2 separate regions of the Homo sapiens genome follow, and region 2 is linked to region 1. The links are contacts of gene promoters, found by promoter capture Hi-C in blood cells and fetal thymus (Javierre and others, 2016). All regions are on one chromosome and are shown on one strand. The core of a region is centred on a gene start or on the middle of the fragment in contact, and the rest is flanking DNA. Distances in the headings are between cores, read along the strand shown. Region 1 holds the start of ANGPTL7 (angiopoietin like 7). Region 2 has its middle 8.9 kb from the start of LINC01647.

Region 1 (7,701 bases), core at 3,385-5,884:
AGACTATGTCTCTAAAAAAAATAAAAAATAAAAAAAAATTGTTTGGCAATTACCAAGGCCACTTTCCTGGTGGAACTCAGGAAAACAATGGAACAAGAGGGAAAAACCTCTAGGATTCCTTCCCATGTCTACAGAGGATCAGTCCCGCTCCTCACCTGGGCTCCCCGGGCACGGCCCCCCTCCACCTCTCCAGCTTTAGCTTCTGCTGCCATTCTTCTTCCCTTTGACTCTTAGGCCACACTCGACTACTTACATTCTCCCACTAGTCCAAGTCTTTCACATAGCTGCACCTTTGCTTACAACATCCTCTCCCATTCCTGGCTATTTCCTCCTTTTTCTTTAAAACCTAGGTATCACTTCTCTAGAAGGCCCTCCTTGTCCTCTGTGTCTCCCATCCTAGCATGTCACACTGTCCAAGAGTTCAGCTGTCTAACTAGACTGCCAGACACTGGGCCAGAATAATCGCTGGATTGTGCAACTTGAGTGGAGGCTAACAGAGCTATAAAGTCCTGACAGAAATCAGAGAGACTTTTTTTTTTTTTTTACTATATTCCATAATTTAAAACTGACTCTGGCCAGGTGTGGTGGCTCATGCCTGTAATCCTAGCACTTTGAGAGGCTGAGGCTGGAGGATCACTTGAGCCCAGGAGTTCGAGACCAGCCCTGGCAACACAGTGAGACCCCCATCACTACAAAAAAAAAAAAAGAAAAGAAAGAAAGAAAGAAAGAAAAAAAGATAGTTGGGTGTGGTGGTGCATACCTGCAGTCCTAGCTACTCGGGAGGCTGAGGTGGATGGATCACTTGAGACTGGGAGGTTGAGGCTGCAATGAGCCATGGTTGCCCCATTGCACTCTAGCCTGAACAGAGTGAAACCCTGTCACAAAACAAAACAGAACAAAACAAAACAGGACTCTAAGAGAAGGCCTGAGAGAAAAGACTTCTAATAGGTTCAGGACACATTCTTTGATAGAAGTGGCAAATTAGAAAGCTCAGGGAAAAGATGGAAATATCTTCTGTGATGGACTTGGACTTTCAGTTGAGACAGGAATGGGATGGAGTGCTAGAAAGGCAGATATGTGGCCGGGCATGATGACTCACACCTGTAATCCCAGCACTTTGGGAGGCCGAGGCGGGTGGATCAACAGATCAGGAGATCGAGACCATCCTGGCTAACATGGTGAAACCCTGCCTGTACTAAAAAATACAAAAAATTAGCTGGGCATGGTGGCAGGTGCCTGTAGTCCCAGCTACTTGGGAGGCTGAGGCAGGAGAATTGGCGTGAACCCGGGAGGCAGAGCTTCCAGTGAGCCAAGATCGTGCCACTGCACTCCAGCCTGGACGACAGAGCAAGACTCCGTCTCAAAAAAAAAAAAAAAAAAAAAAAGGCAGATATTCAACGGCTGTATAGAGTATGGCAGGCTGTGGTTTTTTCAAAGACTTCAGAAGAAGTGAAATATTCCTTTGAGATACACAATTAAAACTAACAGCAAGGCAGCTTCTTCTGAGATGTATTCATTCCACAAGCTGAGAGTGGGCAGCAGTCTCTCCAACGGGGCATTTTCAAGCAAATGGGATCTGATGCTCCTCTCTGGATAGAAGGAGAGACCACCCCTAGGTGCTCCCCTGCCCTGTGACCCTCAGACTACCTTGGTGCCAGCCCAAGGCAGTGCGGCCCAAACACTGTGAAGTCTTTTGAGAACCTCCAGGTTGAGTACAACCTCACTGACTTTTTTCATTAAGAACAAAAGCTTAATTTTCATAAACACCTTTTCCAGGAGCACCAAGCTAGCCCTCTTTCAACACCAGCAAAATGGAGAAAAGGAAAATCTAAACAGTATCCAACCTAGGTTTTCCAGATTTTGTCAGTTAATTCCCATTTTTAAGGTCACTCTGCTCACTGAAAGGCAGAAGAAGGATTTAAAAGCCTCTTTCAGAGAAGGCAATACCATTTTAGTCCTCCACATCCTTCATGGTTTTCTCTACTGGCTTAGCTGTGCTCAAAACAAGGACTTCTTTTTCCTTCATTTAGATATTCAGAATCTAGGACATCATAAGGTTGTGGATGTTTTAGAAAATAGATAATCTTCTGGCATGAGAAATATCCTTAATTAGCTATTTTTCCTCAAAACTGGAGGGGGGGTGAGTATTGACATTTGGGTAGCTTATGCAATTCAAGAGCTTCTGTCTTCTGTCTTCAAGTATTGCCTTATGTTAGAAATAAGTTTCCAGAAAATAAATGTCAAAGACCAGACACTCATGCTAAAGGCTAGATGCTTCCAATACAAACTTACGAACCTCCTCCTACCTTTCCTAAAAGGGACTGTTACATGGGGTACAAATATGAATGATTAATTTATTTTCTGCCCACATATAAGAATCAATTCATAACACTTTCCTGTTTGGGTGAGCTACTGGGAAGAATAAACAAAAGCTGGCTAGAACTCCACAAAGTTCCACTGTTCTTTTGTGCTTTCTCTGCTGCACTGTTACATGAGAGTTCCAAGGCAGCAGGGTCACGTGGGATGCTATACATCAGTGGTCCCCAATCTTTTTGGCACTAGGGACTGGTTTCGTGGAAGACAATTTTTCTATGGACCAGGGTGGGGGTGGGGAGATGGGGGATGGTTTTGAGGTAAAACTGTTCCACCTCAGATCTTCAGGCAGTACTTAGATTCTCACAAGGAGCACGCAACCTAGATCCCTCACATGTGCAGTTCACAACAGGGTTCACACTCCTGTGAGGATCTAATGCTGCCACCGATCTGACAGGAGGCAGAGCTCAGGCGGTAATGCTCACTCACCTGCCACTCACCTCCTGCTGTATGGCCCTATTCCTAACAGGCCATGGACAAGTACAGGTCTGCAGCCTGGGGATTAGGGACCCCTGCTATACATGACTGTATGGTACATAGCACTTCTGTGGCATGTGGTTTAAGCTCAGTGTCATTTGATGGCCAGGAGATCCACTTGAAAATCCCTATTTTTAGCAGACCTTGTAGGATGCCAATATTTGGGGCCAGAGTCTCGTTACTAAAATGAATGCTATGGAGCTAAGGCTGTGGTGCCCAGCTGGGCTAGACATTTGCAAAAAGAGAGCAGACTGGCAGACAGTGCCAATTCTCAACAGAATCTTTTGATTAGAATGCCAAGTTGCTATAAGGGTATCAGTAACATCCTCACCCTTTAGCAGGCAAAGGAGGCTGGGTATGTGAGAAAACAAACTCTGATCCACCTGATCCTCCACTGCTTTTTGATTCTGAGAAAAAAAAAAATTGTTCAGTAACTCCAGCTGCCTGAACAGAAATTACTTTCTGAGGAGCTAGAAGCCCTGACTGGAAAAGAGCTCTGGGGGATTATGGCATGGGAGGAGAGCTGTCAGGCATCAGGCTTATGTGGGAAGGACCCACGCTGACTACAACAGTACAAGTAACTGCCTGAGTGGCTCCATAACATGGAAACAGCAATCGTATGTTCCAAAGACAGAGTTACTGTTTTAAGGACAGAGGAACCTTTGTATAGATTCTTAGTGAAAAGCTTATTTTAAGGATGTTTGCTGAAACTCCATGTTTTTCACATTTCTTTTCAAAAGAGCATTGTCCTTCATATATAGTACATGAAAAATTACAATATTCATGTTTTTTAGATACAAAGTCATATACAAATAGAGGAGGAATAATTTCAAATTGCAAACCATACCAGCAAAGAAAGAGGGAAATGAGACTCTAGATATGGATTTATTAGGTGACAGGGATTCTTTTCTCTATATTTTAATATATTTTCCAAGTTTTGAACCACGGGCTAAGGATGGGCCTGTTCTCTGTCCTGCCTAGAAACTGACAGAAGCATGGGTGACCAATCCCAGACATGCTTGGCACTGCTGAGTTTTCATCTCTGTTGTAATCTTCTGACACCTCCTTGCAAAATATCAAGTGTTATATGCTAATACTGGCCCTCTCTTTGTTGAAGGAGAAAGCATGTAAAAAGACAACTGTCCAAACCCTGTGGCTACAAAGTCTTTTTTTGGCTTCCTAAGAGATTTACTCTATTCTTCTATTTCTAGAACTTTTCTAAGTTGGAAGATTTCAAATGTGAGATAGTGTTAGATCCAGGTTGAGTAAGGATTTTATAAAATACTAAATAATGATCAGAGATGGGAATAATCAGCCTAGATAAAAGCATATTCAGCAGGATGTCAAAATATACCAGATCCTCATATAAACAGCATGGATTACATTAACAGGCCTCCCTGGGTGAGTAGCGTCTCTTTCGCCTACCTTACGCTCACCCCATGGTTATATAACCTTTTGAACGGAATTTGGAAATTCTTCTGACCCTGTCCTGCTTGCTGATAGAGTTGAGCCAGTGGCTGGCAGGGGCATAATCTAATAGGCGAAACTGGAAACACACAAATTCACAGTCCTCTTGTCTTAGCCCAGAGACTGTACAGGCAAGGAAAGAAAGACTCGCCCCATCTCCCTCCTCCCCTCCTCTGGCCTAAGTTGCCGCTGACTTCACCCAACAGGCACCTGACCCTCCCAGATGAGCTGGGAGGGGCTAAAGCCTGGTGCAGCCATGGTAGGGGTGGAGGTACAGGCAGCAAACAATATTTAAGATGCTGACTTGTGGAGCATTCGGGCTTGGAAGGAAAGCTATAGGCTACCCATTCAGCTCCCCTGTCAGAGACTCAAGCTTTGAGAAAGGCTAGCAAAGAGCAAGGAAAGAGAGAAAACAACAAAGTGGCGAGGCCCTCAGAGTGAAAGCGTAAGGTTCAGTCAGCCTGCTGCAGCTTTGCAGACCTCAGCTGGGCATCTCCAGACTCCCCTGAAGGAAGAGCCTTCCTCACCCAAACCCACAAAAGATGCTGAAAAAGCCTCTCTCAGCTGTGACCTGGCTCTGCATTTTCATCGTGGCCTTTGTCAGCCACCCAGCGTGGCTGCAGAAGCTCTCTAAGCACAAGACACCAGCACAGCCACAGCTCAAAGCGGCCAACTGCTGTGAGGAGGTGAAGGAGCTCAAGGCCCAAGTTGCCAACCTTAGCAGCCTGCTGAGTGAACTGAACAAGAAGCAGGAGAGGGACTGGGTCAGCGTGGTCATGCAGGTGATGGAGCTGGAGAGCAACAGCAAGCGCATGGAGTCGCGGCTCACAGATGCTGAGAGCAAGTACTCCGAGATGAACAACCAAATTGACATCATGCAGCTGCAGGCAGCACAGACGGTCACTCAGACCTCCGCAGGTAAGGAGACCAGTCCCCTGAGGGAGCGTGGAGTGCCTCCCCATCTACAGCACTGCTTCTACATATCCTGGTCATCAGAACCACTACTGGGGCCTCTTTTGTGGGTACACTTTCCCTTTAGTAAAGGCTTATGCAGTATTTCCTTTGACTTCTAATGCTATGTAAGTTTACCTAACACCTTCACGGGTCTCTTTTATCCACACAGTGTTTCAGCCTACCATCTTGGAGTGCTGAGATACTACATGGTTTGCCCAAAGTCACCCAGCAAGTCTTAGAAGCAGGGTTCAAGTCTTCCTGATTGGTGTAGCTCTGCTACTTCCTCACCAAGAGCTGACAGGCTATATCTCAAGAAATTCCAAGGAAGCACCAAACTGTAACAGCTGTTCCTCTGGAAGCAAAGTTTTGCCAGAAACAGTTCTCTGGTGTTCCTAAGATTTACCAGGAATGAGCATTAATGGAATTTTGTGTCCTCTCTCTGTAAACGTAACTCTTCTCATTGGCTCAGAGTTAAGTGTAGAGACACATAACCATGTGAAGAGTCCCTTTGTGTTCAGGAAGGATGCGGCTCCTTAAGGTTCCTCAATTGTGATACGTCTATTTTTTTCCATGGTCTTAAATGAATTTCTCCGAATACAGGATTTTTTAAATGCAATGCTGAAATATAGACTTAATAGGCCAAAAATAAGATAAATTTAATCTTTCTTTTGCAAAATAACTTTTATTTCTGGTTAGCTCAGCTCAGGTGGGCCAACATGAATTTACGGTTTAGAGATAAAAATTTGGTTTTCTGAAATTATCAGGAAAATATTAGTTGTAAGGAGCATATCCTATAGACATGTCATTTCTTGCTGATATAAAAACCATTGGTCCCATTATAAACTACATGAAGAACAAAGACATGATCAGCTTCTACTGACTAAGTCAATGGTTAACCTCAGCTCAAATTAAGAAAAAGTTTTAACATGAAACCAAGCTTGAAAATTCTGTTACCTGAACCAACATGTATCAATCACTTTCTAAGCATGGACTTCCGGGCCCTCAGTTTGGGATTAGAAAGGTATTCTCAGGCCATTTTCCAGACAAGTGAGTCCTGATTTGGTCTGTGAGATGAAACCAGACATGCGGAAGACCAGGCCAGACAGAGGAATCTGACCGTGCCACTTCCTGCTCATCCAAACAGGAGGCTTTCTCACCATCCTGCAAGGAGGTTCTTGGGGTCAAGTGCAGCTCTCCCACCAGGTCTCTTGCTCTTCTTGCCCAGGACATCATTCCTTATTTTTCTTCTCTATGACCAAGTGCTCAGTTACCCTTATATTCTATAAGTAGGTAGTCCCTTAGAGGAAGCAGTAAGTTGGTGCTTTCACCACTAAGACGAAATGAAGAATAGTGATGGCGAAGGCACACGTACTCTACCTCCCTTTCCCAAGGTGCTCTGCAAGAGAACCTATGTGCCTCAGACAACTCCCATCTGCCATCTTGGTGCTCCTCTCTAAGGTCCCAGTGCAGTGGTCACCAAGAAAAGCACCCCGAGACATAGCAGGCAGGAAGCTTCTCTTGGATAGTAAGGGCCGCAGTCTCTGAATCCTATCAGAAAAGGCTGTCTCTTCCACTATGCTCTTTGATATTTAGAATACAGAGCTTAAATCCTGCATAAAGTAGCAGCTCCATGGCCCTAGAGTAAAAAAACTGGCCAGTCTGATGCTCTCATTTCATTGTTTTAACAAAACTTCTGGGAGGAAGGCCTCAAAGGTTCTTCTGAGTGTTTTGAGGTGCTAGCTGGATGGAAGGGGAAAATATGTGATAATAAAATCTATCTCCCTTAATTATGGTCTCAGGTGGCAGTAGCCACCATCTCTGAACAACAACAAAAACAACCAACCAGGAAACATCAACAAAACCAGACTCTATGAGATATTCACGACTGATTTGTTATAGTGGCGGCTGTCTAAGAAGTCTGAATCTATCTGACAGGAGTATCTGTTACGTGGCCCTCATACACTGTAACATTTCTAGAATTCATGGCCCAGCTATAGCAGAATAATTTATTTCAGAGTTAACCTGAAACCACCTGTTGGAACGTCCCACTAATGCTATCCAGGTGAAGGGCTTCCCTACCCCTCTGCTCCACCGCTAGTAAAGCCAAAATACACCCCCTCTGGATCTCCCCATATCCACCTCTCCCAAATGCAGACACTGATGGGTAATTAACACCACTGAGAATCCCAGGGTAGAAATAAAGGCTCAGTCTCTAAACACTCAACTCAGATGGAGCCACTGGGTCTAAATGCTCACCCTGTGGTTTGTTCTCTTGTAGATGCCATCTACGACTGCTCTTCCCTCTACCAGAAGAACTACCGCATCTCTGGAGTGTATAAGCTTCCTCCTGATGACTTCCTGGGCAGCCCTGAACTGGAGGTGAGGTCATTACAGTCACTGGCCATGCCCTAATACCTGTCCTTCACCCCC
Region 2 (7,701 bases), core at 2,668-5,167, 430 kb after region 1:
GTGCCTTACTAGCTTTGAGACACTGAGGCACCATGGTGTGCCCAGCCACCTTGACCCAGAACCCTGTAGTCCCAGGAAAAGGTCTGGCACTAGTTCTTGCGACCCAGCGTCTATCCACAGAGCATCTCACCAGGACCCTCTTCCTCCCATGCCTCCCAGAAGGGGAGTTGTGTTTCCCCACCTAGACCACCCACCAACATGGAAACAAGCCATTTCTCCATGCATAAAAGCCTGCAATGTAATTAATATCCCCTCCATTTAACCGGACTATAATACTCTCACCGTTAATAAGCTAGCTAAGAGCTCCGCTTGAAATTAATAACTTGTAAATGACCCAAGAGCCCTGGTTTCATACCTTCTTTTTTTAAACAACAACAAAAAAACCGCGCAGAATTTAAATAGAAAAGCAATTTTCATTTATGAGCCAGTATCATTATTCATAGCTGGAGAATTGTAAGGAGTAAAAGTCTCTTCCACTTAATTAGAATCTTGAACATCACAGGAAAAGAGGGGAGCCCATATCTAGCACCAGGGATGAGAAGGCAAGAAGCACAAATCAAAAGCAAAACATCACCCCATGTAGCTGCAGGTCCAAACGGCCACGCAAGGAGCAGGACCCAGCAGCTGTGCATGGAATCCAGCGCTCGCAATCACGTCAGGGCTGAGGCCGGCAGGGGAGGAATATGCAGAGACGCCAGCGTGTCATATCCGTGTCCTCAAGACAGAAGCGATAACGTCTAATCTTAAACTACAAGGGAAGCCGGAAGGGAGAGAGCAGAGATAGTGAATGGAGAAGCAGAGGCGAGATTAGAGGCTCAGGGAGGAAGAGAGAGGATTTGAGGCAGGAGGGGAGAAAGAGGAAAGAACGGTGCGCTTTCTCCCACGCTGATGGCCCAGCCCTGTGGCCCAGCCTGGCCCCACCCTACTCTAGCCACCAGACACTTGGCATATAGGATCTCATTTTTAGCCTCACAGTAATAACCTGCAAGCCTCACAAAATAATCTGTATTTCAGCCAGGCACAGTGGCTCACGCCTGTCATCCCAACACTTTGGGAGGCCGAGGCCGGGGGATCGCTTGAGCCCAGGAGTTCGAGACCAGCCTGAGCAACATGGCGAAACTCCATCTCTACTAAAAATACAAAAAGTTAGTCAGGCATGATGGTGCATGACTAATTTGTAGTCCCAGCTACTTGGGAGGCTGAGGAGGGAGGACTGCTTGAACCTGGGAGGTAGAGGTTACAGTGAGCTGAGACTGCACCACTGTACTCCAGCCTGGGCAATACAGTGAGACCCCCGTCTCAATAATAATAATAACCATCATCATCATCCATATTTTAGTAAAAGTGAGAAGATAGTGCTCAGAGAGATTGATGAACTTGCCCTGGGGTTGCCCAGCCAGTGGGTGACAGAGCTGGGAAGCAAACTCAAGTTTCTTTGACTGCATGCCAGGCAGAGCACCTCGGCCACCAACGCTTTTTGTTTGCATGGCAGATTCTGCTGTGCTCGTTCTCCCCACTGCCCTCTGCTCCCTCAGCATCCTGGTGAAGTAGACATCACAATCACACACCACAGATTTGGAAGCTGAGGCTCAGACTAGCCAAAGGCAAGTCCTGGCCAAGGCCAAGGACTGAAACTGGAACACACACCTTGAGACCAAAGGCCAGAGCTTGCCTCACTCTAGGGCACAAATATCAGGTAAGCTGATGGTTCACCGAAAGCACACCAAATTCTGCTGATCCCCAGGAGGAGGTGTCTGGGCCTGGGGATTTGCAGGTCGCCTGCTCCAGCGGTTCCCTGCCAGACCCCAAGGATCCCCTGTCACCCACAGCCGCCTGGAGGGTTCAGAACCTACCTCCAACCCACCCTGGAAAGTGTGACATGCCTAACCCAGTTCAACTCTATAAATAATAACACCAACAATAGCTGTCCTTTGTAGAGTCCTTCCCATGGGCGGGGCAGCATGCTAAGCCTTCACCTGGAGTAACTCAGCAGACTCACTGGAATGAAGTAGATGCTTTTCTCCTCCTTTTAGAAGAGAGGAAACTGAGGCACAGGGAGGTCAGGCAACAAGGTCACATGGCTGGTCAGCAGCTCAGCCTCCACGGCCTGCCCATAACCCCAAGCAGGTACAGTCCTCACTAATACTAACAGCAACAACAATTGCTAAGTGCCCACTGAGGACCCCCTGAGGGAGGGGCTGTTAGCATCCCCCACTTGATAGGAGAGAAAACTGGGGCACAGAGGGGAGTGGCTGGCCCAGGGTCACACCATTGAGGGCAGAGCTGGGATTTGAATCCAGAAAGGGCAGCCCCGGGACCATGCTTTGAGCCGCCTCTGCTCACGCGGTGGCACGGGGGGGCCCCAGGGCATCCTGTGGTTCTCTCCAGCTGTCCAGCAGAAGCGTTTCTGCCCCATTCTCCCCTCCCTTCCTGAGCTCTTGGTTTGCTACTCATCTGGCCTGATCAGCTGGGGGCCTGCCCTCTGGCACCTGCAAGCTGAGCCCCTCCTCCATCAAAGCTGCCTTCTCCCCCACCCTCACAGCACCCCTCTGTGTGGCCCTCTCTCCCGCAGAGCCCTCTCGACGGACTAAAGCAGACTCAGAAGGTCCAAGCTACAAACCCACTGGACAGGTGGGAGGACAGATGCCCCAAAGAGGATGACCTGACTTGCCCAAGGCCACACCCTGCTCCCCTCCCCACTAGACTTAAGCAGCCTGCCCCACAGCCTCCGGTCCCCATCCCAAGCCAGCACGCACATCTCTTCCCCAAATCTCATCCCCAACAACAGCATGGAGTGAGACCTCCTGCCAGTGTCCCAGGAAGAGCTCTCAGCTCCGAGATGCTCTGCCAGCTGGCAGGGCCAGGTCCCCATAGAGGCCACCTGCTACGTGAGAACACAGGGCAGTCACCACCAGGAGGCTCTTGGGCCAGTCTGGCTCAGCAGCTACTGTCTCTTGCCAACTGTATGCAGGACACACCCTGTTAGCTTTAGGCTAGCAGAGCCAACAAGCCCAGATGCCTCAAAGAGCCAGTTCGTTCATTGTCCCTTTCAAGGGACCAGATTTCTTAGGCCGTAGTTCCCAAGCACCAGGTTGTGAACCAGCTACAACGGAATCACTCCTCAAAAATAATAGCTTCCAGGGTCCTGCTCCGAAGAGAGTGTGATCCAACTGGTCCTGGGGAGGGTCTAGGAATCTGTATTTTAACAGCCCTGTTCCCACCCACATCATCCTGGCAAGCAGGCTTCGGAACCTCTCTTTGCTCAGAGCAAGCACTTCACTCACAGAGGGTCAAACTTGGAGGCAGTTTAAAGACCTTCTAGTCTAGCCCACCCATTGTCCAGACAGGAACACTGAGGCTTAGGGGGCTTGTCCTGGGTCACAGAGTGACTCAGTGACAGTGCTATGACCCAAACCCCAGTGTCCCAACTCCTAGACCAGGAAGCTTGCCCTTCTGTTAAGACATTTTGGGAAGATGGCAAGAAAGTCCTTCCAGCTCAGGGCAGGAAGTCGTCCTTGGCACAGAGCAAGACCTTTGTGGAAAATTGGTGGATAGGAATGAAGAACATTGAATTGGGGGCAGATACTGCCTGTTTCTGCCTGTCTCTCCCCCATTCCATGAGGTCCTGGTAGGGCTTAGTCACAATGCTCTACAAAACATAGTCACGGGAACACACACACACTCATGCACATACAGACACACACAGACATACACACACACACACTTCGTGGGTGTGAGATCAGGCCAGGCTGCCCAGAATTCTAATCCCCCTGATCACACTGATTGGCTCAAGAATGAACACCATGGGTTGGGTGTGGTGGCTCACGCCTGTAATCCCAGAACTTTGGGAGGCCGAGACAGATGGATCATCTGAGGTCGGAAGTTTGAGACCAGCCTGGCCAATATGGTGAAACCCCGTCTCTACTAAAAATACAAAAATTAGCTTGGCATGGTAGCACGTGGCTGTAATCCCAGCTGCTCAGGAGGCTGAGGCAGGAGAATCGCTTGAACCCGGGGAGGCGGAGGTTGCAGTGAGCTAAGATCATACCACTGCAATCCACCCTGGGCGACAGAGCAAGACTCTGTTTCAAAAAAAAAAAAAAAAACACCTGACCCAAGAAGATCAATCAGAGATTTGACACCTGAACCCAGCAAGGAAGATCTCTCTTCCTTTTGGGTAATGAGTTATAGGGGTTCGGGGCTACCATTGGCCTTCTTCCCTAACACGTGGAGAAAGGCTTTGTGAGAACACCTGAAGGGACGCAGACTCCAGATACGCAAAACAGATGATGTCCTGACAATAGCATTTGGGCTCCTGGATCTAGCCTTTCCTGAAACTGGGAAACCCTGAGCACCCAGTTATGTGAGCCAATAAACTCACTTTTTGACTTAAGCTTGTTTAAGGTGGGGTTTTTGTCACTTGCAACCAAAACAGTGCTGACTAGGGTCCTGGGACACACCTGTTTGGGGGCAGAAAGTGGGAAGCAGAACATTTCATTGCCCTCAGCCCCTGTGACGGTCTAGGGAGGCCCTTGTCCATAAGGAAGGCATGGGATCTCGGGAGAAGCCACCTGAAGATCACAGGGGCATGTCCTGGACCGAGAGTCAAAACACCTGGGCTCTTTCACTCCCAAGCTGCGTGACCTTCGACCAGTCAACCAACCCCTCCTTTATCAAGCATGCCTTTTATTTTCTGTGTTCTGATACTTTGACATCTGGGGCTTTGTGACCCTGGAGGGTTAAGAGCTGGTAAATTCTTAGAGATAGTAACCAACTTGCCCATGAGCCCATTTGCTTTGAAAATGCAAACCAACCAATCCAGAGTCTATACCAGCAACTACCTCCTTTATTGGCTCTCACACTTTGGACCACTATCCACCTGCCCTGATCACTCCAGGGTCATCTACCAGACAACTAGGGGCAGCCCTTGTGGCCCAGAATGCACTGAAATTATTCAAACTAGCCAACCCTAAGCCGGCTTGCTCTGCCTCATTCGTTCCTTCTCATGGATACCACAATAAATGTTCTTGCCCACGATTTCCCCCTCCCTCTACCTCCTGACTGCCCCTATGTGCCCCCTCATGGCTGGACAAGCCCGCTCCTCTTGGGATCTGTGAGTGTAATAATCTGTCTTTTTTTTTTTTTTTTTTTTTTTGAGGCGGAGTTTTGCTCCTGTCACCCAGGCTGGAGTGCAATGGCGCAATCTCGGCTCACTGCAACCTCCGCCTCCCAGGTTCAAGCGATTCTCCTGCCCCAGCCTCCCAAGTAGCTGGGATTACAGGAGCCCGCCACCATGCCCAGCTAATTTTTGTATTTTTAGTAGGGACGGGGTTTCACCATGTTGGCTAGGCTGCTCTTGAACTCCTGACCTCACGTGATCTGCCCGCCTCAGCCTCCCAAAGTGCTGGGATTACAGGCGTGAGCCACTGTGCCTGGCCACAGACTGTCTTTTCAATGTCAGCTGTCTGCTAATCTGTTGACCTCACCATATCTGGAATCAGACGTGATTGTGTAAAAGCCTTGAAATTACAGAGGGCTCTGCAGATGAGAGAGGGTGCATTCAAACCCAAAGACAGTCCTTCTAGAACACTACCATTAGATTGCCTTTGGAGCAAGTAGAACTGGAATTATCATCCTACTCCTCAGATGGGTAAACTGAGGCACAGCAAGGTTAAATGCCTTGCCCTAAGACTTGCAGCTCGTTTTCCAAAGATCCAGAACTGGAAGTCAAGACAGAAGAAGGTATAATCCAGGCCAGCTGGGGTTAACCAAGGAGTGTGTCTTGGAGGAGGTAGACAGGCGCCCGCCACACACATGCACACCCTGTATGCACACACACCCATGCACACTGTCTCTTTCTGCCAGCCCTGGCTGAATTAAGAATGCATGTGCTGTAGAGGACCGGCTAGACAATTTTCCTGTCACTCCCGCTCCTAGTTTCTCCCACCTCGTCCTTGGACACAACTGGGAATCTCTTTAAGGCTCACAATTGGGCCCTTTCAACTGGCATTGGTTCCACGCCTCACCACGTGACTCCGCCTCTCCCCAAGCTTTTCAGTGGCCACTTTCTCAGCCCAACGAAGCCTGACAAATCCTTCCTGCAAACGTGCATGTCCCGGGCTCAGAATAACCTACCAAAAGAAAATAAAACCCCCATGAAGTGAGTCCAGGTGACTCAAAGCGTTCTGTTGGCAGCAGCATTTCCGGCGTCTGCTTTCTCTCTGGATCACAAACATTTCTCATCTGCTGGAGCCATTCAAGACAAGGCCACAGGCAGCCAAGGAAGCCCATGGCCCTGGAGACCCCAAACAACTGCACTGAAATGATTAGATGCTCCCCATCTTCCTGCCAGGAGTGTGTTGGGGGCCGGGGAAGGAAGACATCTGGTCTTTTGTACAAATAGAGAATAACAACAATCGTAGTAATTGTCAGTACAAAGTTATTGCCACTCACTATATGCCAGCCATTGTTCTGTTAATAGGCACTTTGCATTTCTTAGCTCATTTAGTCCTAACACCAAGTCACTAAGACAATTATTAATACTGTGCCCATTTTACAGTTGGGAACACTTGCAAAGACTGAATCCATCTGACAACCCGTGATCAACACCCTTACATGGCAATGATCAGTGGAGCAGAGAAATGGCTGCCCCTTTAGGTGGGACGCGCTGTTCCAATTTGCCACAGCCCCCACCAGTCCCTGTTATATTACACCCTGTCTGTCTCACCCATTTAAGTCACTTGCTCTGCACCTATGGGTGTCTGAGTTGTCAACCTCTACACTATGCTGCCTCCTCCCTCATACTTCCTTCACTCTCATCTCCTTCTTCAGGAATCAGGATTTGGGGCCTAAATCTGCAGAAAGCTCGACCCTTCCCTTTCCTACAGACTGACTCCTCCAGGAAGCCTTCCCTGCTTAATCACCAACGCTGCAAATGTCTAAGCTGAAAGGATTATTTGAGGTCATTTGGTTCTAACCCGTCAGTTACAGATGAGGATACTGAGGCCCAGAGAGCTAGGAATGCTGCTGTCTGCCTGGTCCTACGCCTAACGGTGATCAAGCCCTGTCCGCCAACAAGGTCAGCATGCCCCTTCCTACCTGTCGGGGAGGTAGGGCTGGGGTTGTTCCCGTGCCCATTTTATGGATGAAGGAACTGAGGCAAGATGCTGGGTCTCTCTTTGCAATGTCTGAGGCTGCTCTCACTTCCGAGGGCTCCCTGACCACGGGCCAAGGCTGTTTGGCCCTCCCAGTATTCCTGATGCTTCCATCAGTCCCTGAGCTCTAGAACCAGGTCTGAGCCCCCTCACCTTTGCCTGGGCACAGGGCCTCAAGGAGCCCTAGCTTTGTGCTGCACCTAAGCCTCCTTGTCTGATATTCTGGCCCTTCGTTCCACCTCCTGCATTTCACATCTGGCCCAGCTACACTGTCCTTCCAGGGGTAGGTGGAGCCTGTATTCTGCTTATTTCCCAACAGAAGAAAGAGCATCCCAGAGAGGCTAAATGTGACCTAAGGTCACACAGGGACTCCTGGCAAAGCTGGCAGCAGCACCTGACCCCAACCCCTGTCTTACCATGTTTTTCTCTCCACTCTGTGACCCATTCTCTCTGCTCAGGCCTCCCTCTGGGGACCCCGACCATCTGGAAGACATTCCTTTTTCTGAGTGGGCAGTAGAGTCTTAGACCCACCCCAGACAGTCATTTT

Evidence for each region. The method cuts DNA at HindIII sites, captures the fragments that hold promoters and counts their contacts. A CHiCAGO score of 5 or more calls a contact.
Region 2: a contact is called between a fragment that was not itself captured here and the fragment with the promoter of ANGPTL7 in region 1, in 1 of 17 cell types (M1 macrophages). The highest score is 5.0, in M1 macrophages.

What each region holds. Positions count from the first base shown.
Region 1 is chr1:11,184,721-11,192,421 of GRCh38, forward strand. ANGPTL7 (angiopoietin like 7) reads left to right here and starts at 4,635. Exons shown (of 5, transcript NM_021146.4): 1 at 4,635-5,235; 2 at 7,550-7,650. The coding sequence starts at 4,860. All of the region lies in intron 28 of MTOR (mechanistic target of rapamycin kinase), which reads right to left. RefSeq lists an enhancer at 4,988-5,488. The HindIII fragment of the contact is 1,155 bases long and covers 3,534-4,688 here.
Region 2 is chr1:11,614,585-11,622,285 of GRCh38, forward strand. No RefSeq gene overlaps it. Among named protein-coding and RNA genes, the nearest start is that of LINC01647, 8.9 kb to the left of the region's middle. The HindIII fragment of the contact is 950 bases long and covers 3,443-4,392 here.